Linked DNA regions of Homo sapiens: all the other regions are linked to region 1. Evidence: promoter capture Hi-C in 16 types of primary human blood cells and fetal thymus (Javierre and others, 2016). All regions are on one chromosome and are shown on one strand. Each heading gives the region's core, a stretch centred on a gene start or on the middle of the fragment in contact. The rest is flanking DNA. Distances are from core to core; before and after follow the strand shown. Region 1 holds the start of SAMM50 (SAMM50 sorting and assembly machinery component). Region 2 overlaps PRR5 (proline rich 5). Region 3 has its middle 8.1 kb from the start of TTLL12. Region 4 has its middle 5.0 kb from the start of PRR5. Region 5 holds the start of LOC124905132 (a long non-coding RNA gene). Region 6 has its middle 6.0 kb from the start of LINC00229. Region 7 overlaps LINC00229 (long intergenic non-protein coding RNA 229).

Region 1 (3,924 bases), core at 1,065-3,564:
CTGGACATCTGGACAGAAATGTAGTTATAATTGGCTGGGCGCAGTGGCTCACACCTGTAATCTCAGCACTTTGGGAGGCCGAGGCGGGATGATCACTTGAGGTCAGGAGTTCAAGACCAGCCTGGCCAACATGATGAAACCCCCGTCTCTACTAAAAATACAAAAATTGGCTGGGTGTGGTGGCGTGCGCCTATAATCCCAGCTACATGGGAGGCTGAGGCAGGAGAATCGCTTGAACCTGGGAGGCGGAGGTTGCAGTGAGTGGAGATTGCACCATTGCACTCCAGCCTGGGCAACACAGTGAGACTCCATCTCAAAAGAAATGTAGTTACAATTAACCATTAATCAAGTTGCCTTTTTTTTTTCAAGAGCACAAATCCACATTGATTTATTGACTTTTCATTAGTTTAAATCCTTGAGGGGTACAGCATTACTCGGATTCTGTGTCCAACAGCCTTAGCAGGAAGATTGCTTCAGAATTTGGCACGAATCATGCCATTGTTTCTGTGGGCCCGAGTTACCTTTCCCCAGATTACTCTGGCTTTGTTTGATTTGCCGCCAGGAGTCACTATGTTGTTCTTTGCTTTGTATACATGAGCCCAAATAGAATTCTGTTTCATCTCGGGCATAAACACCTTCAATTTTAAGAAGAGCTGTGTGCTCCCTTTGGTTCCGGAGACTCCACTTATAGCCAGCAAAAATGGCCTTGGACCACAGCCTTCCAGACATATTTCCTTTCAGAAGTCCTGCTCCCGGCAGGCCGCCACAGGAGCCAAGATGGCAGGAAGAGCTCAGGTTGCACTCTGACCTACTTGCTAGTAACCAAAAGTCACAGATACTATTTGCATCCCCATTGATTTTACAGATAGGATTTCTAAAATTAGAATCATAAGGCTTTTGCTTAAGAGTTGCTTTAGATGTTTTTCAGATCTCGAATTCCAGCAAAACTGATGCTGCCAACCAGTTTGAAGACTCCTCCCCGCAACAGAGGAACGGAATCAGCATGAGAAGTTTCCTCATCTCCCTGTCCCATAACTTCACCCTTCACTCTTCCACCAATCAAGGATCTCCACACTTCAGCAAAAACATGAGGTCCAAACTCCTGAAGGAGATGGATTTGAGGTTTCCTCTCTTTTCCCATCTCCTCGTTCAGCGGCCCTGCAACTGAAACTCTTTCTCTGCTGCAACCCACTGTCTGAGTGTATTGACTTATCGAGCACACTGAGCAACAGACCTATTACAGTTACACAAAGAGATGTCAGAAGAGAAACGGTGTTTGATCTGAATGAAAGACATATAAAGGGAAGTTAAGTCCAATTATCGATGTCAGGCTGCGACTTCTGTGCTAAATTTTTTTGGAAGTTAATGGGGAACTACTGAAAACGTCTATGCAGGTCAAGTGAAGCAATCAAAGTTGCAGTAGAAAAGTAGTGTTGGGGCTGAGACTCAGGAAATCTGAGGTTTTAGGCCATTTGGAACCAGTAACTATGTGACCTTGGAGAAGTAACTCATTATCTGGCCCTTATTTAAGATTAGGATAAACGAGAGGAGTTTGGCAACCAGTACAGTTAGTCAGGCGCCAGGCACCCAAGTATTCACATGCATTGTCTTTTAATTCTCTTTTAAGCCAGGCGAGGTAGGTACTATTACTACCTCCACTTTAAAACAGGAAGTAAGGCAGAGAGCGGTTCCGTCTTTTGCACGGTAGACAGGAGAAAAGAGGACCCCTAGATAGGTTTGAGTTAGAAGACTTCAAAGGATTCTTGTTGCTCTAGGAGCCTACAATGGCTCCAGCAGCGGCTGAGCGGGGAAAGGCTGGAAGTGACCAGTAAAGAGAGAAAACTTAAAATCATGCAAAGAAAGAGCACATTCACTGCGGTCTAAGACATCACAGAAAGTTGGCAAGTCCTTTGGGCCACGGACTCGCCGAGTGACCTTTAGCCAAGTCTCGTCCCTCCTATCAGGTTCCTGCTCGAAGGTCTGCAAGACTCGCTGGCCCGAGGCGACCTCTTTTCGGCCTCCTCCACCCAGCCCGGCACCCTTGGCACCCTCTCTCCCGGTGAACCCTGGGCGCAGCCACGAGAGCGTCTCCCCGCGGCGCCCGTCTGCCCTGCTGGCCCAGAGGCCTCGCAGCCCGCGGGTCGCTGGGCCTCTTACCCGGGCGTGCACAGTCCCCATGGTTCCCTCTCCAGCCGCTGCCTCGCAGAGCTGCCCGGGCGGGACAGAGCGTCTGCTGCTGAGGGCAGAAGGCGGGTCCGCGGTGGCGGAGCTGCAGGTCAAGGCAACTCCCACAAACCCCCGGACGCGGAACACTGGGGGCGGCCATGATTCCCCGCCTTCTCCGCGCCCCCTGGCTCGCGATGCCTTCGCTCATTGGTCCTTATGCGCCTGTGACCCGGATGTTCACACGGCCGCGGAGGACGTTCTGACTGCGCAAGCGAAGAGCGTTCACTGACATCCGCGAAGCTGCTGGCGCGTGGACTGTGTGGGGAGGGCGCGTGGGGTGAAGGTGGGTCTGCGAGAGGGTCCGCTGGGAGGCTGGCGTCTGGCGTTGGCGCCTGAAAGAGATCAGACCAGCTGTTGGGTGTCACTCAAGTCCTGCTGCTCTTAGCCCTCCTAGCACCCCCGACCCGAGGGTGCTGTGCTTGTGCCCACGCGCCGGTGAAGCCCCGAGACTCAGCGGGGAGACCCCGGGTCCGGCCACCCCCGAGCTGCAGTAGTCGGGTCTCACCGGCATCTGCTACACAAACCCGGATTGGTGCCCTGGCTCCTTTCGTTCAAGTCATTGGAACCCCCACTCAAAATCGTCAAAATGAAGACGATGGTCGTGTCTCCTTCTTGGGGGTTGGATTAAAAGGGCCTAATGTGAGAGACGGAAAGCAAAGCTCCCGGCACCGGGCCGGGCACACGGTGGGCGCTAGATAATGACCGCTATTCACTCAACTGCAGCCAGTAATTATGGGCGAGGGCCATCTAGGTGCTTGCATGAGAACCAGTCATATCGGTGAAGAAGACGGCCATGGGCTTAGGTTTTGGTGGCAAAACAGCTCCCCTGCCCCAAAAAAGAAAAGAGAATAGAAAAGAAAAAGGCATAATAAATATCAGCCACACATTGTGATAAGTATATTGAAAGAAACGAGACAGAATAAGAAAAGAGGAAGCTTCAGTATCCTGTCACGTTGCCACTCCCTTCTGATAACAGAAGCATCTTTTCTTCTGTCCCCTTACTCCCTCCCAGAAACCCTGACACCCTTTCCATTTAAATAGCAGCACCCTAGGCCTCCAACATCCCTGAGCTAAATATTCAAGTCCACATGTCCCTTCTTGCCTGGAAAGAGACAGAACCCAGCACCAGCCAGGCCCCTGCCCTTCCCTCACTCTCAGTTCCCTGAGCCTCAATTCCTTATCTGTAAAATGGAAATGATAGCCTAAGGCATAAGGTCTGAGGACCTCATGAGATCAAGCATGGGGCCTGGCACTCTGTAAACATCGAATCAACCAGATTTTCTTTGCCCAAACAGCCCTCTTTTCTTACACTTTCTTCCTCGTTATTCTTCTGAGTATGCCACTTGTAAAGGATAAGCCATGAGGTTGCCCTGCAGAGTGCAAGATGGTTGCAATATTTGAGAGCCTATTGTGTGTGAGGCCCTGGAGGATGGCAGAGGGAACAGGAGGAAAACAAAGTCACATGCTTTACCCTCAAACAAAGGGCTGTCTGCGATAGTTACAATGTATATATTAAAGGCTATCTGTGATAGTTACAATGTATATAATATATTAAAGGCTGTCTGTGGTAGTTAACAATGTGTATATTAAAGGCTGTGATAGTTACAATGGGTATACTATATTAAAGGCGGTGGTAGTTACAATGTATATAATATATTAAAGGCTGTGATAGTTACAATGTACATAATATATTAAAGG
Region 2 (3,924 bases), core at 779-3,278, 780 kb before region 1:
CTGCAGGCATCTCCACCTTGGGACTCCTCCTCTTCCTCTTCCCAGGGCCAGCACATCCAGAGAGCATGTTTGCCCCCTACCTCGTGATTCCTGGGCCACAGCCCACCCAGCAGCACTTTCCTGAAACGGAGCTATTCCTTCTGGAGATGAATATCACGGGGTCCAAAGTGGGTGCTTGAGAGGGCACGCGGGGTGGGCATCAGCACTCCAATGGACCCGCCTCTGAGACCTCCTACCAGGGCTTAGCTGCTGTGTGGTGTATACTTGCACACACACACACACACACACACACACACACCCACCCATCCACTCTCGCGCGCGCGCACACACACACCCCCAAACACTTGTGCGTGCGTGCAGACACACACACCTACCCACTTACACACACACACACACACACACACACGGACGCCCAAACAAATCTGAGCTCTCAGCAGGGGTGCAGTCAGGGTCACTGGGAAGCCTATCGTAACCCACCCTGGGTTTTCCTAAGTGCCACCTCCACCCCAGACGCTGTCACAGTGCAGGTGAGGCTCACATGTCCCGGCAGGCCCACGGACCCCAAGGCGGGGCTGAAATGCAGATTTAGGGTCAGCAGATGGGGCCAGGGCCTGAGATTGTGCATTTGAGAGGTAAGGGGTAGAGCGTTCACGAGAATCCTGCACAAAACTTACAACAAGCACACAAAAGACAACAACGATAAAGCAGTTTCTAGAACCCCAGCCCTGGAGATGCAGAGGAATCCACCCCACTGGACACCCCGGTGATGCCGATGGTAGACCAACCACTAACTAATTAACCACCGATTTCACTCGTTTAACAAACCTTAGGGTGTGGAAGACAGAACAGCAAATGTTAAGAAGCCGTGTCTGCTCATTTCTGTTGTCAACATAATTTCATCGAGCCCTGACTGTGACAAGGCGCAGCTCTCCAGGAGGATGCCTTGAAGACCAAACAGGATGGAGCACACGGTCTCCCACGCCTCTTCCCTGAGTCACTCTATTCCTTAAAAGATAAATAAGGGCCGGGTGCAGTGGCTCATGCTTGTAATTCCAGCACTTTGGGAGGCCGAAGTGGGCGGATCACCTGAGGTCAGGAGTTCAAGAATAACCTGGTCAACATGGTGAAACCCCGTCTCTACTAAAAATAGAAAAATTAGCCAGGCATGGTGATGCATGCCTATAGCCCCAGCTACTCGGGAGGCTGAGGCAGGAGTATCACTTGAACCTAGGAGGCAGAGGTTGCAGTGAGATGAGATTGCGCCACTGCACTCCAGCCTGGGTGACAGAGCGAGACTCTGTTGGGATTACAGGTGTTTACCAATTTATAAGATGTCTGAATGCAGATCACCTCTGACATCTTTGGGAACAAGGCTAGGACACACACACACACCCTCTTGGTGGGCTGCTGCTTTCTGGGAGTGGGAGTGCAGCCTCCTCACCTCCTTGGGGCCCCCACTGAGTCCTGTGAGCTGCTGCAGGGCCCAGGCCCAGCACCCACCCTCCTGGACTGCAGCCCCCCAATCTGTGGTTGGGGATGCTGCTGGCTGCTGCCCAGGGGCCTCCCCTCCTGCCCCAGGGCAGGAGGACTGAGAGCTTAGGGACTGCCTTGCCAAGGGTCCAAGTGCCAGCCAGCAGGGGCCACCAGTCCCTGGGCCACCCCAGGCCCGGCAGCATCCAGGGGCCAGGGATGCTCGACCCCCCACGATGGAACCCCCACCACTCAGGGGACAGAACACAGGGTCTAGCACCCTGGTGTGGACAGAGCCCAGACAGCAACTCCCTGCCACGGCTTCTGGTCTTTGGTCCTCCTGCCTTGAGGTGACCGCTGGGAACCCTCCTGCCCATGTTGCTAATGGTCACCCACTACTCCCCGCCTCAGGCCACCTCGGGCTCCATGATGGAGCTGGGAGCCAAAGAGGTTGGTCCACGGATCTCGGCCTCATCAGCCTGGCTTAGTGGTTCTCAGACCAGGTTCTGGCTTTCTGTTCAACGACCACCTGTCCCCCAGGCCTGGGTCCCGAGGCTGCTCTTGCTCCCCTACTTGCCCAGCTGAGCCCTGCCTGGGGCACATTACCCATTCCGAGTAGCTTCAGAGAGCTCCACAGGGTTGGTATGCACCCGTATCACAGATGACAAAACTGCGGCTCAGCAGAGTCAGAAAGCCAGAGCTCCCCCTGCCCCCACCCCTACACCCTCCTATCCTGAGCTGAAGCAGGGGCGCCAGGTCTGCTTCTCCCACCAGAGAGGGAAACTCCTCCATCCAGAAGGCTCTGCTGGGAGACAGCCTGGGCCAGCTCCGGCCGTGACTCAGGGGTCAGGTGACGTCCTCCTGCTCACGCCCGGCTCACACCCACCCTCTCCCTCCAATCACACCTGGTTCCCCTGCCCTGGGCCTGTCCTTCATTTGCTCAGCACTCCTTTCCCACCTTGAGAAAACGCCATGAGAGGCGAGCGCGTGGAAGGCTGCGGGGGTGGCAGATCAGCAGGTGAACGGGGTGTGGAAAGGTGCCCGCCGTTAGAGACCCCTCCACCCCTCCCCATGGAGGCCACGCTGACCCGATGCTTTAAAACGGCGGGGGTGGCTAGGGAAGGCTGCCCCAGGCTCAGCTCCTGCCCCGATAGTAGGGGTGCCCGTGGTGCTGGGCTGGCCTTTGGCTCTCAGTAACACTCGGGCCCCACTGACGGGGGAACAAAGAGCCCTGCCTGCTACGGCTGATGCGGTATCCTGCCCACCTGAGGGCCCGGGGAAAGCCTGTCTGGGGATAGTGAGGCTGCAGGGGAGGTCAGAGCAGGTGTTAGTTTGTGCTTCCCAGGCCGGATGGCCTTCAGCAGGTCACCCCCACCCCCTAGGCCACCTGGACGCTTCTGTAGCACGGGAGGAGCTGGCAGATCCCGCCCCCACCCCTCCTTCCCTCCTTCAAAGGCTTCAGTGAGTCCATCCCTGCTAAGGCCAGGGGCAAAGTCAGGGCCAGACTCCTGTGCGGCAGGGCCAGCCCCACTCCCTAGCATCCCAGCCCTTCCTTCCACAACCTCCCGGTCCTCCCATCAGGGACAGGGACGGTGGAGCAGTAGGGAGGCCTGGACAACAGGCACAGGTCTGCCCCCTCCACACAGACCCTGGAAACCTGCGCTCCCTAGAAGGGAGCGAAGGCCTGAGGGTGAGCACCCTGAAGGGGCGCCCCCAGGGCAGGCACTGCAGACATGAGCCAGGTTGACAGGTTTTATTCCACCCCCTTCCATCCCCATGGCCACCCCAGGCAGGAGGAGACAGGTGTGCTGGAGTCTGGTCACTTTGGGGCCCGGCGTGGGCAGAGCCCACTGGGTTTACATTCTCTGTGGGCAGGTGTGGACACCAGAGGGCTGGGGCAGGAGGAGCGTGGGAGCGAGCGGCCGACCCCCGTCTCTGGCCCGGCCCCTGGGTAAACGCCGACTCAGATGCCTGAAACAGACCTGGGCCGAGCAAGGAAGGCTGATGGTATTTCCAACCAAGACAGAAATACAAAGTGACCAAGGCCAGTGACGAGGCCGATAGGGCTGGCGGGACGGGACGCAGTAAAAAAGTCTCACTCACACACACGCCACATGGACACCCCCGCACACAGGGACGTGTCAGTAAAAACTCAAGGCCAGCTGTGAGGCCTCACACGACACTCTGCCGGCCCCCAGAGCCCTCCAAGTCGGACATGCCAGAGCCCCGGCCCCGGCCAAAGTCAATGAAAATCCCTTCAGAATCCGAGTCCACGGACTCCAGGATCTGGTCCACCAGGTTCTCCGGGCTGGAGCGGGGCAGGGAGCTGCGGGTGGGATCCAAGCCCTGCTCAGGGGGCTGGGTCGTGGGGTACAGTCTGCTGGGGCAGGGCCCTGAGTGGGGCGCCGGGGAGGACCTGAAGGTCCCGGTGGGGCCCTGGCCGGGCGGGTCGGA
Region 3 (3,924 bases), core at 469-2,968, 760 kb after region 1:
CTAACTGGAATCCAGAAAAGAAAAAATAATGGAAGAAATTTCATGACGCTATTGAGGACTGAAAGTAAGGAGCTACAGTAACCTCTGGAAAATAAAGCAGCGAGGTGGAGATCTACGTACAGACGCAGGGGGCGCCCACATTTAGGGAACAGACATGCTTCTAACTGGCAGAAGGCAAAATGTCCATATTTCAAATCCCATTTCCCCGCATAACTCATGATGAAATGAGAGTTTTGTTTTTGTTTTTTTTTTTTTCAGACAAGAGTCTCACTGTTGCCCAGGCTAGAGTAGTGGCGTGATCTCGGCTCACTGCAAGCTCCGCCTCCTGAGCTCACGCCATTCTCCTTCCTCAGCCTCCCGGGTAGCTGGGACTACAGGCGCCCGCCACCACGCCTGGCTAATTTTTTGTATTTTTAGTAGAGACGGAGTTTCTCCGTGTTAGCCAGGATGGTCTCGATCTCTGACCTCGTGATCCGCCCGCCTCAGCCTCCCAAAGTTCTGGGATTACAGGCGTGAGCCACCGTGTCCGGCCAAGAGTTGTTCTTTGACACTGGGGCTTTAATCTGGAAGTCATGGTCACAGTGAGCCTCAGGGAATCTATGACTCATTGAAATTCGGCACGCAATGCTGTGTGTGTGTGTGTGTGTGTGTGTGTGTGTGTGTGTACACATGCATGTACAGATACACATTTCTATTTCTCTGGGAATATGGCCCACAGCTTTCCTCAGGTTCTAAAAGAAATCTAGGGTCAGGTGCAGTGGCTCACACCTATAATCCCAGCACTTTGGGAAGCCAAAGCAGGAGGATTGCATGTGTCCAGGAGTTCGAGACCAGCCTGGGCAACATGGCAAGACTCCCCCATCTCTACAAAAAATGAAAAATAAAAAATAAAAACTGACAAAAGATATATACATGCATTTCGCAGAAGAAGAAACAGGACAGCCAATTACCATTTGAAAAGGTGCTCAATCTCATTAATAATAATGGAAATACAGGCTGCTCTGCCTAGGAGTAGCCATGCTTTTGTTTCTTTACTTCTCTAATAAACTTGCTTTCACACACACACAAATGGAAATATAAATTGAGACAACAAAAATATGCCATGTTAGCACTAGGTTGGCAAAAAAACAATAATAAGTGTGATAAAATCAGAATCAGAGAGGATATGGATCAACTTACTGTATACAAATAGGGAATCTCTTTTTTACATATATGTTCCAGGAAATATACAAAACTATTCATAGCCTCATGTTTATTAGAGCAAAAAGCTTAAGATAACCTAAGTCTCTTCGTGGAAAACTGCATCATAGTCACGTAATTAAATATTATGTAGCTATGACAATTAATTAACATCCTGCAACAAAAGGGATATATCTTAAAAGCAACATGTGCAGGAACAAGACCAGGATGCGTGCCTGCACCGCTCTGCTGGAGGTCTAGCCAGGACAATTAGGCAGGAAAAAAATATAAACAGCATCCAGATTGGAACGGAAACAAAATTATCCATTTCACATGTCCTGATCTTCTATATGGAAGATACTTAAGGAATCCACAAATAATTACTAGAGCTGATGAAATTCACAAGGTTACAGAACATAAGATCAATATATAAAAATCAGTTGTACGGTGGGCACAGTGGCTCACCCCTGTAATCCCAGCACTTTGGGAGGCCAAGGTGGGTGGAGAGCCTGAGCTCAGGAGTTCAAGACCAACCAGTGCAACATGGAGAAGCCTTGTCTCTACCAAAAATACAAAAAATTAGCCAGGCATGGTGGCACGCACCTGTGGTCGTAGCTACTCGGTAGGCCGAGGTGAGAGGATCGCTTGAGCCTAGGAGGCAGAGGTTGCAGTGAGCCGAGATCCAGCCACTGCACTCCACCCTGGGTGACAAAGTAAGACCCCATCTCAAAAAAAGAGAAAAGAAATTAAAGAAGATCTGTACTCTTGGATTGGAAGACAGTATTGTCAAGATGACAGTACTCCCCAAATTGGTCTAGAGATTCAGTGCAATCCCCATCAACATCCAGGCTGGCTTCGTGCACAAACTGACATGCGAATCCTAAAATTCATATAGAAATGCAAGAGACCCATAGTAGCCAAACAGTCTTGAAAAAGAACAAAATTGGAGGATTCACGCTTCTCATTTTTAAAACTTACTACAAGCTTACATTAATCAAGATTTTGTGGTACTAGCAGAAGGACAGACCTACAGATCAATGGAATAGAATTCAGAGTCCAGAAATGAACCCTTAAATTTATCATCCATCAGTTGGTTTTCAACGAGAGTGCCAAAACCATTTAATGGGGAAAAAATAGTCTCTTCAACAAATGGTACTAGGACAACTGGATATCTACATGCAAAAGAAAGGAAGTTGGACCCCTACCTCCTATACAAAAAATCAACTCAAAGTGATCAACGACTGAAATGTAACAGCTAAAACTATAAAACTCTTAGAAACTAAGACAGATAAATAAGTCTTTGGAATCTTGAATTAGGCAATGGCTTCTTTTTTTTTTAACTTCAATTTTTGTATTTCCGTTAAGTTTTGGGGGAACAGGTGGTGTTTGGTTACATGAATAAGTTCTTTAGTGGTGATTTCTGAAACCTTGGTGCACCCATCACCTGAGCAGTACACCCTCTACCCAGGCAATGCCTTCTTAAATGTAACACACAAATAATAAGGCACCAAAGAAAAAATATATAAATTGGACTTCACCAAAATTGAAAACTTGTACTTCAAAGGGCTCTGTGAAGAAAGTGAAAAGATAACAGAATAGGAAAAAAACCTTTACAAATCACATATCTGATAAGACTCCAGTATCCAGGATATGTAAAGAACTCTTACAACTCAACAATAAGACAAATAACCTAATTTAAAAATGAACAGGCGGCCAGGCATGGTGGCTCACACCTGTAATCCCAGCACTTTGGGAGGCCGAGGCGGGCGGATCACGAGGTCAGGAGATCAAGACCATCTTGGCTAACACAGTGAAACCCTGTCTCTACTAAAAATACAAAAAACTAGCCGGGTGTGGAGGCAGGCGCCTGTAGTCCCAGCTACTCGGGAGGCTGAGGCAGGAGAATGGTGTGAATCCAGGAGGTGGAGGTTGCAGTGAGCCGAGATCGGGCCACTGCACTCCAGCCTGGGTAACAGAGCAAGACTCCGTCTCAAAAAAAAAAAAAAAGAAAAGAAAAAAAAAAAAGAACAGGCTGGGAGCAGTGGCTGTAATCCCAGCATTTTGGGAGGCCAAGGAAGGCGAATCACCTGAGGTCAGGAGTTTGAGACCAGCCTGACCAACATGATGAAACCGCATGTCTACTAAAAATACAAAAAATTAACCAGGCGTGGTGGCATGCACCTGTAATCCCAGCTACATAGGAAGCTGAGGCAGGAGAATCACTTGAACCCAGGAGGAGGAGGTTGCAGTGAGCCAATATCACACCATTGCACTCCAACCTGGGTGACAAGAGGGAAACTACGTCTCAAAAAAACAACAACAAAAAACAAAAGAACAAAGAAGGCCAGGCACAGAGGCTCATGCCTGTAATCCCAGCATTTTGGGAGGCCAAGATAAGAGGATCACTTGAGGCCAGGAGTTCAAGACCAGCCTGGGCAACAAAGCAAGACCCTGTCTCTATATCAACAACAAAAAAATGGACAAAGAGGCTGGGCACAGTGGCTCACACCTGTAATCCAGCACTCTGGCAAGCCAAGGCCAGCATATCGCTTGAGGTCAGGAATTCAAGACCGGCCTGGCCAAAATGGTGAAACCCCATCTCTACTAAAAATACAAAATTTAGCCGTGGGCACCTGTAATCCCAGCTACTAGGGAGGCTGAGGCAAGAGAATCACTTGAACTCAGGAGGCAGAGTTTGCAGTGAGCCGAGATCACGCCACTGCACTCCAGCCTGGGCGACAGAGA
Region 4 (3,924 bases), core at 820-3,319, 740 kb before region 1:
TTCCGGAGGTGGGGATGGCTGAGGAATTTTAAAGAGATCTTTAAAAAAGGCATCTCTAGTCAGCGTTAAGGAATTAGCTATAACCTCTCCCTGGCCCCAGCCACAGATGTGTAAAATCTGTCTACACCCAACAGCCCAGCGCCAGGAGGGCAGTGGAGGCTCAAGCAAAGGTGCTAGTGCTCTGGGTTTGGGCCGTGACAGGCAGAGAGGGCACAGCTGCGGGGCTGCCCCGGGGCCAGAAACCCCAGGCAGAGGCCACAAGGGGACAGAGCTGTCACAAACCCTCAGAGCAGGGGGCAACTGGGGGACAAAGGGCGGAGTCTAGCCCCTAAGTGTGCTCTGTGTGGCCTGCAGCGTCGGAGGAAAATAAACCAAACTGCGTGCGGCCAACATCTTACAACATTTTACAACGGAGAGATTGACACAGAAACCCGGATTCTGGCCGCCCTGAAGCATCAGGTGACAGTCTTGCTGGGCCTGAGCCCCACGTGACAGCTCCCACCCGGCTACTGCCCCTGCCAGCAGGCACAAGGCCTCCAGGTGCCCACCGGGCCCTCCTCTCACTTATGGGGCTTTCTGGGTCTGAGGAGGGGGCTGGGGGACCCAGCAATTGTATTGTGGCGGGGTACCCTGGGCAGGGCTCATTTGTGTCTGAGACCAGGGAAGGGAAATGTCCCTCTGTTAAGGAAATGAGAGACAAAGGGACTCAGTCACACATCCCCAAAGCCACCAGAGTGGCCCCCACTCCAGACTCATTCACACATCCCCAAAGCCACCAGAGCCACCTCTGCTCCAGACTCATTCACACAACCCCAAAGCCACCAGAGCCACCCCTGCTCCAGACTCATTCACACATCCCCAAAGCCACCAGAGTGGCCCCTGCTCCAGGAAGGTGCCAGGCCCGATGGCATCAACCACGTCCTCTCCTCCCCAGGACCCAAACTCATTCCAAACTCCCCCTGGCCAGTGGGGTGTCGGCAGCTGGTAGAGGATCCCCTTGGTCACCAAGGGGGACCCTGATATCCTCAGAACTACCCTTCTGAAGGGCCTGCAATCCCTAAGCCTGGCTCAGCCCCGGCTGGACACCCAGGGGACAGGAACAGACCAGTAAGTCAGGGCAGCTCATGAACCCGGGACTCTGAGTTCTAGTCCATCAGCACTGCAAGTGACATCATGATCTCTGGGACACAGGCCAGCCAAAGGGAGGAGACAGCATACCCCTGAAGGGGCCAGTTTGGGGCCCAGGGAGGGGTACTATAGGCATGATACAGGGGCGGCCACTAAACACACTGCCCCGACTCGTCCCCACAAGGCTGCCAAGTGGGAGACCAGTCCCATTTTACAGACAGACAAACAGAGGCCCAGGGAGGCCGAGGCGTATGTCCGAGGTCAGAGTCAGCAAGTGGGGGAGCTGAGGCTGGAGCCCTGCGGGCTGGGCGGGAGAGAGAGACAGCCTCCATCTCGCCCACTCTCCCCGGGGCACGGCCCTCAGGTGGTGACCTCAGTTGCCCACGCCCTGCCTGCTTTCCTAGGCACTGCCTGCTCTGGAGGGGCACGTCCGCCCCCTGGTGGCGAAGCCTGGTGTTCCCTCAAAGCCGACCCAAAAGTGCCTTCTGCCCCCTGAGGAGCAGCCTGGTCAGTCCCGGACACCCTGGAAGAGGCCTGGCAACGTGCTGGGCACGGAAAGCCATGGGGAGTGCCTGGCTCTGTCCCCACAGTCTCTGCCATCCGGGCCGTCCCATCCCTTCCCTGAGATGGGCGAGAAGGGTGACACCACTGCCCTGTGAGGGCACAGAAAAAATCCACACACAGTCACAGGGGCACGCCAAGGGCTTGGTGACCGCCGCCAGGGTGGTCGCACGGCAGAAGGAGGTTCCTGAGTCAGGGCCACCACGCTGGGGGAGCCCAGGGTACTCGCGGTGACTCCGGCACCAAGCACCAGGCCACCGGACCTGGTGGCCTTGGAGCCAGGATCAACTGTTATTATTCCCATTTCACGACTGGGGAAACTGAGGCTGTGTGGGGAACACAGCAAGGAACAAGAAAGACATGGTCCCTGCTACCAGAAGGTGAGCCCATCGTCCCTTCCTAGCTCTGCCATCTGATATGTTCATGTCCTGGCCGGGTGTGGTGGCTCACGCCTGTGATCCCAGTACTTTAGGAGGCTGAGGCCAGTGGATCACCTGAGGTCAGGAGTTGGAGACTACCCTGGCTAACATGGTGAAACCCTGTCTCTACTAAAAATACAAAAATTAGCCGGATATGGTGGTGCACACCTGTAGTCCCAGCTACTAGGGAGGCTGAGGCAGGAGAATCGCTCGAACCCTGGAAGCGGAGTTTACAGTGAGCCAAGATCGTGCCACTGCACTCTAGCCTGGGCGACAGAGCAGGACTGCATCTCAAATAAATAAATAAATAAATAAATAAATAAATACGTAAGTTCATGTCTTCCTTGGTCCCACAGCAGCCTTGAGGTTTGAAGGTGGACCGCTTCCTTTAAGTCTTCTCTTGACCAGCTGAGCTACCAGGACTCCATCTGAGCCCTTCTCCACCCTGGTGGTCTGGTTCTGTGCACCCAAGACACGTGCCCTCCTTTTGTTCTGGATTTCAGTTCTAGGGGCCGGGGAGGGGGCTCTGGCCAGCAGGTCCCTGGTCTTAATACACCAGACGTCACACATGCACCTGCATAAGATTCTCTCTCCAAGCCACCTTCCCACCTGTCAGCCAGGTCTTGAACACCAATCGGTTTCCAAAGTCTCTTCTGGGGCAGGTGTTTTATAACCTGATTCTAGTCTCTCAATAGGTGCCTCTGTGGTATAAGGAGGTGACTGTCCAAGCTCGAGGATGGCATTGCAGAGACAGGTTTTGGAATCTCCCAAACTGGGTCTGCCCTCAGCTCTGCCACCTCCTTTGTGTCAAAGTTGTCAGAATTGGCTGGACGCGGTGGCTCATGCCTGTTATGCCAGCACTTTGGGAGGCTGAGGCGGGTGGATCACCTGAGGTCAGGAATTCCAGACCAGCCTGGCCAACATGGTGAAACCCCATCTCTACTAAAAATACAAAAATTAGCCAAGTGTGGTGGTGTGTGCCTGTAATCCCAGCTACTCAGGAGGCTGAGGCAGGAAAATCACTTAAACCTGGGAGGTGGAGGTTTCAGTGACTGTGCCATTGCACTCCAGCCTGGGTGACAGAGAGGGACTCTGTATCAAAAAAAAAAAAAAAAAAAAAAAAAGTTGTCAGAATCAAAATGGAATCACTTGTGTTTAAAAAAACCCTGACAGGCTGGGCGCACTTTGGGAGACCGAGATGGGTGGATCACTTGAGGTCAGGGGTTCGAGACCAGCCTAGTCAACATGGTGAAACCCTGTCTCTACTAAAAATACAAAAAAATTAGCTGGGCATGTTGGTGTGCATCTGTAATCCCAGATACTGAGGAGGCTGAGGCAAGAGAATTGCTTGAACCCGGGAGGTAGAGGTTGCAGTAAGCCCAGACTGAGCCATTGCACTCCAGCCTGGGTGGCAGGAGCAAAACTCTGTCTCAAAACAAAAACAAAAACAAAAAACAAACAAACAAAACCCCCTGAGAAATAGAGCCAGGAAAGGCCATGAAGAGAGGCTTCTTATATAAAAATGCCTGATAACAAGAATGATCACAAAAGGCTCTAAAAAACCACAACCTTGCACAAAGGCCATAGCAATCACACACCAAAAATACCTCTGTGAGGACATCTGCTCAGCAACTGCCTGTCCAACCTCGGGCTGGTGCCACCCTTGTTATTGATCCTTGTAGCCAGGGACAATTATCTCAAAACAATTATGTAATCCTCCTCCTTTTTCCTTTAAAAACCTTTGTCTTTCTTTGTCCCTGAACATAACACATAGTTTAATATGGCATGCGAATTCCCATTGCAATGCCTGATTCCT
Region 5 (3,924 bases), core at 1,007-3,506, 710 kb before region 1:
AGGGGGAGCAATGGCGAGGGAGGGGAGAGCTGCCATGGGGAGAGAGCGGTGTCGGGGAAGGAGATGGGGACACGGGGCGGCTGGACGGAGACCCACCCACAGAGACGCGGACAAACTCAGAGATAGAGGGAAGGGGGCGGGGCGGGGGGCGAGCGAGAGAGGCTGGGAGAGAACGAGCTCGGGAGGTCCCGGGAGGCTGGGGTGGGAGAGGCTGGACCTTCACCCAAGGGGGCCGCCCCTGCCCCGCAGATTCCGTCCGACCCCTACCCCACCCTAGGGCCCCGCAGTCGGCGTCGCGCGCGCGCGCACCTACGCGCGCACACACACGCGCGCGCCGCTCCGCCGGCACCGCCCCGGGGCCCCCCCTTCCGCAGGGTCGCGCGTGCCGCCCCCCAACCCCAGCCACCCGGTCCCCTCTCCGGCCGGGCCTCCGGACCCGTAGCCGCCGCTCACCTCGGTCCCCGCGCCGCCGCCGCCGCTGCCACCGCGCAGAGCCAGAGCCGGAGCCGGAGCCGGAGCCCGGGGCCGGGGGAGGGGGCCGCGGAGGCCCCGCCCCGCCCCGCTCCGCCGCGTCCCGCCCCTCGGGCCCGCGCGGGGGCGCCCGCAGCCGCCGCAGCCCCCAGGGACTCGGGGCGCTGCAGGGGAGACTCGCCTAAGTGCGGCAAGCGGGTCCGCGGGCACGCCCACCCGGGTCCGCCGGAGCTGGGGGGCTGGCGCTTGGGCCCCCTCCCGGCCTCCGCCCCTGAGCACTGCGCAGGCTGTGGGCGGCGCCCGCCGGGGCAGGGGGCGTCCCGGGTCACCCGGCGGCCCGGATCGGCCCGTGACGCCCTCACCCCACCCCTCGGCGGGCCGCAAACGTCCAGAGAGCGCCCCCTCCCCAAGCCCCGACCTGAGCGGGGCGCTAGAAGCCGGGAGGACAAATCAGACGGTCAGACTCAGTCCCTGTCCCGGGGATCGGGGTCCAGCCGCGGGCGGAGCGGGGAGGGAGGGGAAGACGAATGGGCCTGGCACCAAAAACAGCCCAGGGCTGTGGTTCTCAAAGTGTGGCCTCCGTTAGTGCAGAGTCCCTGGCCCCACCCCGGACCTACAGAAGCAAAACTCGGGGTTGGGCCCCCTATTTTAACAAGCCTTCTGGGTGGTTCCAGAGTTCAGTAAAGTTTGAGAAGAACTGCCCTGGTGGAAACATCCAGCACCCCACATCCTGCACCCCACAACCCACATCCCACACCCCAGTGTCTCGAAAAGGGCTTCTTTTCACTCTTCACTTAAACAGCCTCACCCTGTTTAAGTACCTCTCCGTTGGTACGTGGCTGTGGTGGGGGCAGTGGGCGGGGAGCAGTGGTGTCTGTCCCAGGAATCCCCGAAAGGATTGACAGTCAGTGCCTGGTAGAAGCCGCAAGTCCTGTACCAGAGGCCAGGCTGTGGGCATTCGGGCGGTGATGGTTATGGTTATTGTGTTTTGGTGTAGTGATTGTTTTAATGTTTTAGAATGCAATTGTGCAAATATTTGTGTCCATATTCAGTTGTAAAGCTTTTTTTTTCCCCTTCCATCATTGTGCTTGTTTGACGCTAAGCCACTCATCCCCCAGAAACAGTGTTGACATGAGGCAGATCAGATGGCCGGCCTTCCTGGTGACCAGATTTCAGGACAGCAAGCATCCCGGCCAGACCCCAGGTACTCTAATGGGGTCCATAGGGCCCTGGGAGTGAGCAGCTCTGCCTGAACTGCAGGATGGGGCATCCTAGAGGGAGGAGAGGGCATCTGGACAGAGGGGCCTAAAGTGTCTGGGTGGCATCTAGACTGGGCAGACAGTGCCTGGATCGAGTACTGGGGTGGGGCTGGAAACGGCCCAAGAGGTGCCAGAAGGAGGTGGAGCTGTTCTGAGCCCCGTGCTGCCAAGAGGGATGTCCTGGCCTTGGAGGGACCTTTGAGGTCATCTAATCCAGCCTCTTGGTGTGTGACCACTAGGACCTCCCCCACTTCTAATTAAACTTTCCTTCTTTCTTTCTTTTTTTTTTTTCTTGAGACCGAGTCTCGCTCTGTTACCCAGGCTGGAGTGCAGTGGTGCCATCTTGGCTCATTGCAACCTCTGCCTCCTGATTTCGAGTGGTTCTCCTGCTTCAGCCTCCTGAGTAGCTGGGGCTACAGGTGCCTGCCACCATGCCCGACTAATTTTTGTATTTTTAGTAGAGACAGGGTTTCACTATGTTGGCCAGGCTGGTCTCAAACTCCTGACCTCAGGTGATCCACCCGCCTGGGCCTCCCAAAATCCTGGGATTACAGGTGTGAGGCAGCACGCCCAGCCTAAACTTTCTTATTTTGAGATAATTGTAGATTCACATGCAGCTATAAGAAACAGTAGAGATGTCTTGGACCCAGTTTTCTCCACTGGTAAAATCTTGCAAAATTATACTACAATATCACAACCAGGATATTGACATAGATGCCATCAAGGTACAGAACATTCCATCAGCAAAGGACCCCCCCGTGGACTTTTTATGTGCTTATCTCCCTCCCTCCTCCCTCCTGGCAAGCACTTATCTGTTCTCCATTTCTGTAATTTTATCATTTCAAGCATGTTATATAAATGCAGTCATACAGTATGTTACCTTTTGAGATTGCTTTTTTCACTCAGCATAAATCCCTGAAGATTCTTCCAGGTTGCTTTGTGTTTCAGTAGTTTGTTCCTTGCTATTGTGGAGTGGTCAGCATTCCATGGAATGGGTGCATCATAATTTGTTTAGCCATTCACTTGTCGAAGACTATCTGGGTTGATTGCCAGTTTGGGGCTATTACCAATAAAGCTGCTATAAACATTTGTGTACAGGTTTTTGTGTGAACATAAGTTTTCATTTGTCTGGGAAGAGTGCCCAGGAGTGTAATTGCTGGGTCGTATGGGAGTTGCATGTTTAGATTTTTAAGAAACTGCCAAAATGTTTTCCAGAGTGTACCACTTTGCCTTCCCAGCAGCAAAGCTTGAGTGATCCAGTTTCTCTGCATCCCTACCAGCATTTCGTCTTGTCCCTGTGTTTTATTTTTGCCATGCTGATAGGTGTGTAGTGAGATCTCATGGTTTTAATTTGCCTTCCTCTAACGACTATTGATGTTAAAGATTCAAAACGATCTTGAGAGCTTATTTACCATCTGTAAATCCTATGAGTGGTAGGTGTGTTCATGTCTTTTGCCTATTTTCTAATTGGATTTTTTTTTTAAAAAATGTTCATTAAATTTCTTTCTCTCTCTCTCTCTCTCTCTCTCTCTCTCTCTCTCCCTCTCTCTCTTTTTTTTTTTTTTTTTGATGGAGTTTCACTCTTGTTGCCCAACCTGGAGTGCAGTGGCACAATCTTGGCTCACTGCAACCTCTGCCTCCTGGGTTCAAGCGATTCTCCTGCCTCAGCCTCCCGAGCAGCTGGGATTACAGGCGCGCGCCACCACATCTGGCTAATTTTTTGTATTTTTAGTGGAGACAGGGTTTCACTATGTTAGCTAGGCTGGTCTTGAACTCCTGACCTCAGGTGATCCTCCCACCTCGGCCTCCCAAAATGTTGGGATTGCAGGCGTGAGCCACGGCGCCCGGCTGGTTATTTCTTTATGGTGTAGTTTATTCAGAAATTCATGAATTCCCTGAGAGAGAGGAGAGTTGTCTCTTTTCTTCCCCAAAGTATCTCTGGGTGTTTGGAAACAGTCTTTGGCACGTATTAGAAGGTGGCTAATAGGTATTTGTTGAAAGAATCAGTGAGTAAATGAATACATGACCCCATGGTGCGTGGTTCTGGCCACGTCATTTGTGGCGCCCCCTGCTCCCCAGATCCATTCACTGCCTACTTTGTGCTCCCTGAGGCTGACCTGGGTGGACGGCATCCCCCACCTGGTTACATTTGACCCATGGAGGCAGTTGCTGGAGATCAGCCGGAGAGAATGAG
Region 6 (3,924 bases), core at 638-3,137, 680 kb before region 1:
AGCCTGGTCTCTGACCCAGGGGAGCTCACGGTGGGGTGGAGGACAGTTCACCACCCCAATGCTGGGTGATGAGGGCTGTGATGGGGTTGTTCAGTGGGGGTGGGGTGTGACCTCACAGGGTTCCCAGGGTGGTAGAGGATGAGGATGTGGTTAGGAGGTTTGAGTGAGAGATGAGGCAGGAGAGGCCGTGGGACCTGCTGGGGTGGCTCCCAAATGCCAGCTAAGGAGTCTGGAGGGCCTTTGATAAAACCTGAGGTCAAGTCATATATCACAAAATTCACCCTCTTAGAGCATACAGTGTAGTTTTTAGTATATTCACAAGATTGTGCAACCACCAATCTAATTCCAGAACCTTTACATCTCCCTGAAAGAAACTCTGTTCCCGTTAGTAGATACTTCCCCTTCCCCCATACCCCCAGCACTTGGCAATCACCAATCTTTCTGTTTCTGTAGGTTTCCCTATTCTGGACATTTCATACACAAGGAAACCTAGAATCTGTGGCCTTTCATGTCAGGCTTCTTTCACTGAGCACCATGTTTTGAAGGTTGACCCACGATGTGTCACTTGTTAGGACTTCAGTCCTTTTTATGGTTGGATGTGCATAGCACGTTATGTTTATCCATTTTCTGTTGATGGAAATTTGGATTGTTTCCATATTTTGCTGTTGTGAATAGTGCTGCTGTAAACATTCAAGTGTACATTTTTGTGTGGACATGTGTTTCTGTTTTCTTGAGTAGATATCTGGGGTGAGATTGCTGTAACTCTATGTTTAATTTTCTGAGGAACTTCCCGGCTTTTCTTCAAACCTCCTGCGCTATTTTACCTTCCCGTCAGCAATGTATGAGGGCTCTAATTTCACTACATCCTTGCCTCAATTTGTTATTGTCATTTCTTTTTTTTTGGTATAGCCATCATTGTGATTGTGAAGTGCTGTGACATTGTGGGTTTGATTTGCATTTTTTCTGATGACTAGTGATATCAGGCCCCTTTTCACGTGCCTGTTGCCATGAGTATGTCTTGTCTAGAGAAGTGTATCTTCAAATCCTTTGGTCACTTTTTTTTGAAACAGAGTCTCACTCTATAACCCAGGCTGAAGTGCAGTGGTGTGATCTCAGTTCACTGCAACCTCCGCCTCCTGGGTTCAAGTGATTCTCCTGCCTCAGCCTCCCAAGTAGCTGGGATTACAGGCACCCGCCACCATGTCCCGCTAATTTTTGTATTTTTAGTAGAGACAGGGTTTTGCCATGTTGGCCAGGCTGGTCTCGAACTCCTGACCTCAAGTGATCACCCCACCTTGGCCTCCCAAAGTGCTGAAATTATAGGTGTAAGCCACTGTGCCCAGCCTCCTTTGGTCACTTTTTAATGTGGATATTTGTTTTTTTAAATTATTGAGTTGTAGTAGTTCTTTATATAGTCTAAATACTATATCTGTATTAGATATGTGGTTTACAAATAGTTCCTTCTATTCTTTGAGCTGTTTTGTCACTTTCTTGTGAATGTCCTTCAAAGCACAAGTTTTTCATTTTGATGAAATCCATTTTCTATGTTTTTTCTTTCATTGCTTGTGCTTTTGGTGTCACAACGAAGAAACTCTTGCCTAATTCAGTCACGAAGATTGGCACCTGACCTCTTCTGATTTTTGTAGTGGCAACTCTTCCATGGCTGTCTTTGATCCATTTTGAGTTAGTTTTTGTATATGGAGTGAGGTAGGGGTCCAGCTTCACTCTTTTGCATGTGGATACCCAGTTGTCTTAGCTCCATTTGTTGAAAGATGATTCTTCTTTGATTGTCTTGGCACCCTCGTTGAATATCGATTGGCCATATATGTATGTATGGGTTTATTTCTGAACTCTTACTCTGTTCTATTGACCTATATGTCTTTAATTATGCCAGTACCACACCATCTTGATAGCTGTAGCTTTGCTGTAAGTTTTGAAGTTGGGAAGTATGAGTCCTCCTATTTTTTTTTTCAAGATTGTTTGGTTTTTCTGGGCCCGCTGCATTTCCATGTGAATTTTGGGATCAATATACACAACATAGGCAGCTAGGATTCCGATACGGTGAGGAGAGTCTTTGTCTACAGGGCAATGGGGAGCCATGGGGGTTTTTGAGCAGGTGAGTGACAGGATCAGACTTGAGTTTTGCTAAGATGGATCTTCCCAGCACAGGGAATGGATTTGAGGGAGTGGGTTAGGCCCAGGGGGATGCAAGGAGAGGTGGTGACAGCCAGGGGCTGGCCATGAGGTGACAGGCATGGGCTGGCCACAGGACAAGGAGCCGAGAGAGGCAGAGGAACCAGGGTCTCAGACTGGTGGGCTGTAGGGAGGGATGAGGTGGTTGTGTCTCTGGAAGGCCCAGCCCCACTCCTGGCTCCCCACCCTTCTTGGTCAGGGAGAGGGGCCAGGGAGCAGGCTGGACTGGGCGTTGGGACATTTGGATCCAACTCTGCCTCTGTCACTGCTCCACTGTGATCTCCCATGGGCGACTTCCCAGCCCCCACCCATCCCTCCTCCCCAGGGCCTGGATTCAAACAGACTCATCCAGGAGAGCTAGAAGGGCCCTATGAATCCACGCAGGCCACCATCTATTTTATAGATGGGAAAACTGAGGCCTCATGTGATTGACTCCCTGCTCTCCTCTGAGCTCTTTGGAGCCTCAGGTTTTGCCCTTGCCAGTCCCTGGGTCCATCCTCTAGGGCCTAAGAACAAACCGCCAGCCCATAGCTCATCCAACCGAGAGCTACAACTGCACGTGATACTATGACCAGGCCATTCCAGAAAATCCTTGCTCAGGAAGACACAGTTGCAAAGGACTTTCTTGTTTCAGGAACTTCCTGGAATCCATTTATCTGAACAATAGCTCACCTCACTGGGTGAGCTGCTTGCTCGTGAAATGACTGCTCTCTCACCAGGACATGCTTGAAACCCACGCCTCACTGCGTCCCCAGTGCCATTCTGCTGTGTCACTAGGTTCACCCAGTCCCAGTCCATCTCCACAAACTGCTTAGACCCAGGACCCTGACTTACAAAGGCCTTTCGTGACCTCCCCTTTCCAAGACACTCCTGGGACTCTGTCAGGGATACCCCCTGCAGACACAGACACTGAGCTTGGCTTGGCTGGGTGACTGCTGAGTCTCCCAGACAGGATGGGGCCCCTACACACTCCTGGCCCCCTACTTCTTGCGTATCCTTAATGGTACCTCTCAATCTGCCTTAACAAAATTAATAGACTTTATTTTTAGAGCAGTTCTAGGTTCAGAGTTGAACTGATTGAAAGGTGCAGAGATTTTCCACAGCCGCATGGCCCCACCATGCACACCCTCCCCTCTATCACTGTCCACCAGCCACATCAGGGCCACCCAGAGTCCACGGTTTCCATGAGGGGCCCCTCTTGGCATTGGACATTGTGCAAGGACAGGGACCCCCATGGTAGCATCATCCAGGGCAGTGTTACTGCCCTGAGATCCCCATGCCCTACCTGCTTATCCCTGTCTCCCTCTCATTCCTGGCAACCTCCGCTCCTTTCACTGTTTCCGTAGTTTGCCCTGCCCCACAGGGTCGTGTAGTTGGGATCACACTGTCTGTAGCCTTTTCAGACTTGCTTCTTCCACTCGTGAGATGCATTTTGAGTGCTTCCATGCCTTTTTTTTTTTTTTTTGAGATGGAGTTTCACTCTTGTTGCCCAGGCTGGAGTGCAATGGTGCGATCTCGGCTCACTGCAACCTCTGCCTCCCAGGTTCAAGTGATTCTCCTGCCTCAGGCTCCCAAGTAGCTGGGATTACAGGTGCCCACCACCACACCTGGCTATTTTGTTGTATTTTTAGTAGAGACAGGGTTTCCCGATTTTGGTCAGGCTGGTCTCGAACTCCTGGCCTCAGGTGATCCACCTGCCTCAGCCTTCCAAGTGCTGGGATTACAGGTGTG
Region 7 (3,924 bases), core at 1,006-3,505, 660 kb before region 1:
TGTCTGAGTTCTTCTGTTTATCGTTATTCTCACAAGATCTGCCCATTTACAAAAAGGAGCAGTTGTTTGTTCCCTTTTTATTTGTATTATTCTATTGTATGAATATACCTAATTTACCATCCCTTCTCCTATTGATGGATATTGGGTTTGTTTTCAGTTTTTGTCTACTTTGAAAAAAGCTGTTATGAATTTTCTTTTCTTTTTTTTTGAGGTGGAGTCTCACTCTGTCACTCAGGCTGGAGTGCAGTGGCACGATCTTGGCCCACTGCAACCTCCGCCTCCTGGGTTCAAGCAATTCTCCTGCCTTAGCCTCCCGAGTAGCTGGGATACAGGCATGCTCTACCACGCCGAGCTAATTTTTGTATTTTTAGTAGAGATGGGGTTTCACCATGTTGGCCAGGCTGGTCTTGAACTCCCGACCTGAGGTGATCCACTCGCCTCAGCCTCCCAAAGTGCTGGGATTACAGGCATGAGCCACCATGCCTGACTGAATTTTATTTTATATGCCTTTGGTGGACACAAGATCTCATTACTTTTGGGTATATATTTAGGAGTGGAATTGCTGGGTCAAAGGGTTGGACTCAATGTAGCTTTCACAGGTGCTTTCAAACCTTTTTATAAAGTAGTTATTTGGTATCTTCAAAAAATTTTAAGTAGACTTTTTTAAAGAACATTTGTAGACTTACAAGTGAAATTAAGATGATAATACAGAGAGTTCCCACACACCCTGCCCCTAGTTCTCCTATTTTTAGCATCTTGCATCAGCATGGTACATTTGATGCGAGTATTAAACCAATGTTGCTAACATTCTCATTAACAAAAGCCCATATTTTATTCAGTTTTGTTCGTTTTTAACCTAACATCCTTTTTCTGATCCAAGATCCCACTCAGGATCCCACATGACATTTAGTTGTCATGTCCCATTAGGTTCCTCTGGGTGGTGACAGCCTTTTTTTTTTTTAATTTGCCATCTTTAAAGAAAATGTTAATTAAAAACATAGAGATAATTGTAGATGCACACACAGTTGTAAGAAGTAATAGGCCGGGTGCGGTGGCTCACACCTTTAATCCCAGCACTTTGGGAGGCTGGGGCAGGAGGATCATGAGATCAAGAGATTGAGATTATCCTGGCCAACACGGTGAAACCCTGTCTCTACTGAAAATACAAAAATTAGCTGGGCAAGGTGGCACACGGCCATAGTCCCAACTACTTGGGAGGCTGAGGCAGGAGAATCGCTTGAACCCAGGAGGTGGAGGTTGCAGTGAGCTGAGATCGCACCACTGCACTCCAGTGCAGGGTGAGACTCTGTCTCAAAAAAAAAAAAAAAAGTAATAGCAAGGAGGCCAGGTGCAGTGGCTCACACCTATAATCTCAGCAGTTTGGGAGGCTGAGGTGGGCAGATCACTTAAGGCCAGGAATTCAAGACCAGCCTGACCAACATGGTGAAACCCCGTCTCTACTAAAAATTAGCTGGTCATGGTGGTGCACCCCTGTAATCCCAGCTACTCAGGAGGCTTAGGCAGGAGAATCACTGGAACCCAGTGTGGAAAGTAAAAAGATTCCTCTTCAAAGTTTCCCTTCTTGTTAAAGAATAAATCATAAGTGTTAGAAATAATAGTTTCTTTTAAAGGCTAACTTCCTTCAAGCCTCCTTGCTTTGTGCTAATAACTGTTTGTTAAGCCCTATCCTAGGTAGCTTTTAGATATAAGGGAATGAGTGCATTCTATGTCCTTGTACTTTAACCAAGGTATTTGTTCTAGACATGCTCAGGCATGTCCCAGCTCACAGCTTATGCACCTTCTTTATTTGGAAATGTTATTACTTCTCTAAGTCTTTTCATAAGCAACTTCCTCTTTTCCTTTGTTCTCCCTTGACTTTACCTATTTAGGAAAGTTTTAAGTTATTAACCAGTCAGGTTTAGCTTAGATTGTGAGGTCCAGCTCCAGCCAATGGAGACAGGACACAGTAGCAGGGACAAACCGCATAAGGGATAAAAATTGCTTCCCTCCTTTGTTCAGGTGTGCTCTCGCCATTGCTGCATCTGTGAGGAGCACCCTTTCTGCAGAAAGCAAAGTTGCCTTGCTGAGAAAATTCTTTGTCTGAGCTCTAGTTGTTCTTTTTGGCACCAAGGAACAAGCATTTCTAAGGGAATAAGCATTTTACTTATAACCACCCAGGAGGCAGAGGTTGCAGTGAGCAGAGATGGCACCACTGCACTCCAGCCTGGGCAACAGAGCAAGACTCTGTCTCAAAAAAAAAAAAAAAGAAGAACAGGAAGGTGTCCTTTACACATTTTGCCCAGTTTCCTTCGATGGCAATATTTTGCAAAACTATAGTACAATAATAGTACAACCAGGAAATGGACACTGGGGCAATCCACCAATCCTATTCAGATTTCTCCAGTTTGCCTGTACTAGTGTGTATGTGTGTGTGCGTGGGTGTGTGTGTGTGTGAATTCTGTACAGCTTTATCATTTGTGCAGGTTCCTGTCTCCACCACCCCTGTCATGGTGTGGAAGAGCTCCATCACCATGAGAATCCTTGGAGTTGGAGTTACCTTTTTATGGCCACACCCACCCCTCTTCCACATCCCTAATCCCTGGCACCACCTATCTGTCCTCCAATTCTAAAGTTTTTTCATTACAAAAATGTATACACGGACTTGTGCTGCATCATACTTTTTGGGATTGCTTTTATTCACTCAGCCTAATTCCCTGGATTCCTCCAGCTTGCTGAGTGGATTAATAGTTCCTTTTTACTGCAGAGTACGGTCCCACGGCCTGGATGTTCCTGTTTCTTTCTTTCTTTCTTTTTTTGAGATGGAATTTCCCTCTTGTTGCCCAGGCTGGATTGCAATGGCATGATCTTGGCTCACTGCAACCTCTGCCTCCTGGGTTCAAGTGATTCTCCTGCCTCAGCCTCCCAAGTAGCTGGGATTACAGGCATGCGCCACCACGCCCAGCTAATTTTGTGTTTTTAGTAGAGACAGGGTTTATCCATGTTGGCCAGGCTGGTCTCGAACTCCTGACCTCAGGTGATCTGCCTGCCTTGGCCTCCCCAAGTGCTGGGATTACAGCCGTGAGCCACCGCGCCTGGCCTGGATGTTCCTGTTTAACCATTGGTGGATGAAGGACATCAGGGCTGTTTCCAGTTTTGGCTATGACAAGTCAAGCTGCTATGAACACTTGTGTACAGGTTTTTGTGCAGATGTTTTATTTCTTTAAGACGAGTGCCCAGGAATGCAATTGCTGGGTCACCCGGTAATTATATGTTTAGTTTTTTTTTTTTTTTTTTTGAGACGGAGTTTTGCTCTTGTTGCCCAGCTGGAGTGCAGTGGCACGATCTCAGCTCACTGCAACCTCTGCCTCTGGGGTTCAAACGATTCTCCTGCCTCAGCCTCCCGAGTAGCTGGGATTACAGGCACGCACCACCATGCCTGGCTAATTTTTTTGTATTTTCAGTAGACAGGGTTTCATCATGTTGGCCAGGCTGGTCTCAAACTCCCAAAGTGCTGGGATTACAGATGTGAGCCACCGCGCTCGGCCTATGTTTAGATTTTTTAAGAAATAGCCAAGCTGTTTTTCCAGTGTGTCTGTCCCAAGACATCCATAGCAGCAGCATATCATGATCCGGGTTCTTCACATCCTTGTGAGTGTCTGGTGTCATTATTTTTCATTTTAGCCATTCTGTTAGGTGTGTGGGAGAGGTGTGATATTGAGTTAGTTACTTCACTTCTCTGAGCTCTATGTCCTCATCATGGGCCGTCTGATACGGCTGTCAGAAATGCTGGTGAAGTAAACACGTGTAAAGAACTTGGAACGATGCCTGCTCTGTTAAGAGGGCTCCTAACACCTTAATAATTATGATCACATTGAACTATACGAAATTGCCAATGTGGGATCACTTTTGGCCCATAAAAACCCT

Evidence for each region. Contacts are between HindIII fragments. The CHiCAGO score rates a contact against its expected background, and 5 or more counts as called.
Region 2: a fragment that was not itself captured here is called in contact with the fragment with the promoter of SAMM50 in region 1 in 1 of 17 cell types (naive CD8 T cells); the score reaches 5.3 in naive CD8 T cells.
Region 3: a fragment that was not itself captured here is called in contact with the fragment with the promoter of SAMM50 in region 1 in 1 of 17 cell types (endothelial precursors); the score reaches 5.2 in endothelial precursors.
Region 4: a fragment that was not itself captured here is called in contact with the fragment with the promoter of SAMM50 in region 1 in 4 of 17 cell types (naive CD8 T cells, activated CD4 T cells, total CD8 T cells and 1 more); the score reaches 6.3 in naive CD8 T cells.
Region 5: a fragment that was not itself captured here is called in contact with the fragment with the promoter of SAMM50 in region 1 in 11 of 17 cell types (naive CD4 T cells, non-activated CD4 T cells, naive CD8 T cells and 8 more); the score reaches 13.0 in naive CD4 T cells.
Region 6: a contact is called between a fragment that was not itself captured here and the fragment with the promoter of SAMM50 in region 1, in 4 of 17 cell types (naive CD4 T cells, total CD8 T cells, naive CD8 T cells and 1 more). The highest score is 8.2, in naive CD4 T cells.
Region 7: a fragment that was not itself captured here is called in contact with the fragment with the promoter of SAMM50 in region 1 in 9 of 17 cell types (neutrophils, naive CD8 T cells, activated CD4 T cells and 6 more); the score reaches 7.4 in neutrophils.

What each region holds. Positions count from the first base shown.
Region 1 is chr22:43,953,832-43,957,755 of GRCh38, reverse strand. SAMM50 (SAMM50 sorting and assembly machinery component) reads right to left here and starts at 2,314. Exons shown (of 15, transcript NM_015380.5): 1 at 2,158-2,314. The coding sequence starts at 2,178. It also overlaps the pseudogene RPL35AP36. RefSeq lists enhancers at 1,570-1,779, 1,585-2,336, 2,460-2,539, 2,620-2,669, 2,337-3,089 and a silencer at 2,222-2,496. The HindIII fragment of the contact is 6,277 bases long and covers 1-3,163 here.
Region 2 is chr22:44,736,966-44,740,889 of GRCh38, reverse strand. PRR5 (proline rich 5) reads right to left here. Exons shown (of 8, transcript NM_181333.4): 8 at 3,209-3,924. The coding sequence ends at 3,643. The region is part of intron 4 of PRR5-ARHGAP8 (PRR5-ARHGAP8 readthrough); the gene reads right to left. Among named protein-coding and RNA genes, the nearest start is that of ARHGAP8, 14 kb to the left of the region's middle. The HindIII fragment of the contact is 6,756 bases long and covers 1-3,924 here.
Region 3 is chr22:43,193,307-43,197,230 of GRCh38, reverse strand. No RefSeq gene overlaps it. Among named protein-coding and RNA genes, the nearest start is that of TTLL12, 8.1 kb to the right of the region's middle. RefSeq lists an enhancer at 1-92. The HindIII fragment of the contact is 895 bases long and covers 1,271-2,165 here.
Region 4 is chr22:44,695,232-44,699,155 of GRCh38, reverse strand. It overlaps a transcript of PRR5 not described here. Among named protein-coding and RNA genes, the nearest start is that of PRR5, 5.0 kb to the left of the region's middle. The HindIII fragment of the contact is 4,492 bases long and covers 1-3,924 here.
Region 5 is chr22:44,665,335-44,669,258 of GRCh38, reverse strand. It overlaps LOC124905132 (a long non-coding RNA gene), which reads left to right and starts at 676. Exons shown (of 3, transcript XR_007068127.1): 1 at 676-928; 2 at 1,590-1,675. It also overlaps a transcript of PRR5 not described here. The HindIII fragment of the contact is 1,445 bases long and covers 1,534-2,978 here.
Region 6 is chr22:44,629,441-44,633,364 of GRCh38, reverse strand. No RefSeq gene overlaps it. Among named protein-coding and RNA genes, the nearest start is that of LINC00229, 6.0 kb to the right of the region's middle. The HindIII fragment of the contact is 9,177 bases long and covers 1-3,924 here.
Region 7 is chr22:44,610,232-44,614,155 of GRCh38, reverse strand. The region is part of intron 3 of LINC00229 (long intergenic non-protein coding RNA 229); the gene reads left to right. Among named protein-coding and RNA genes, the nearest start is that of LINC00229, 13 kb to the left of the region's middle. The HindIII fragment of the contact is 5,035 bases long and covers 1-3,924 here.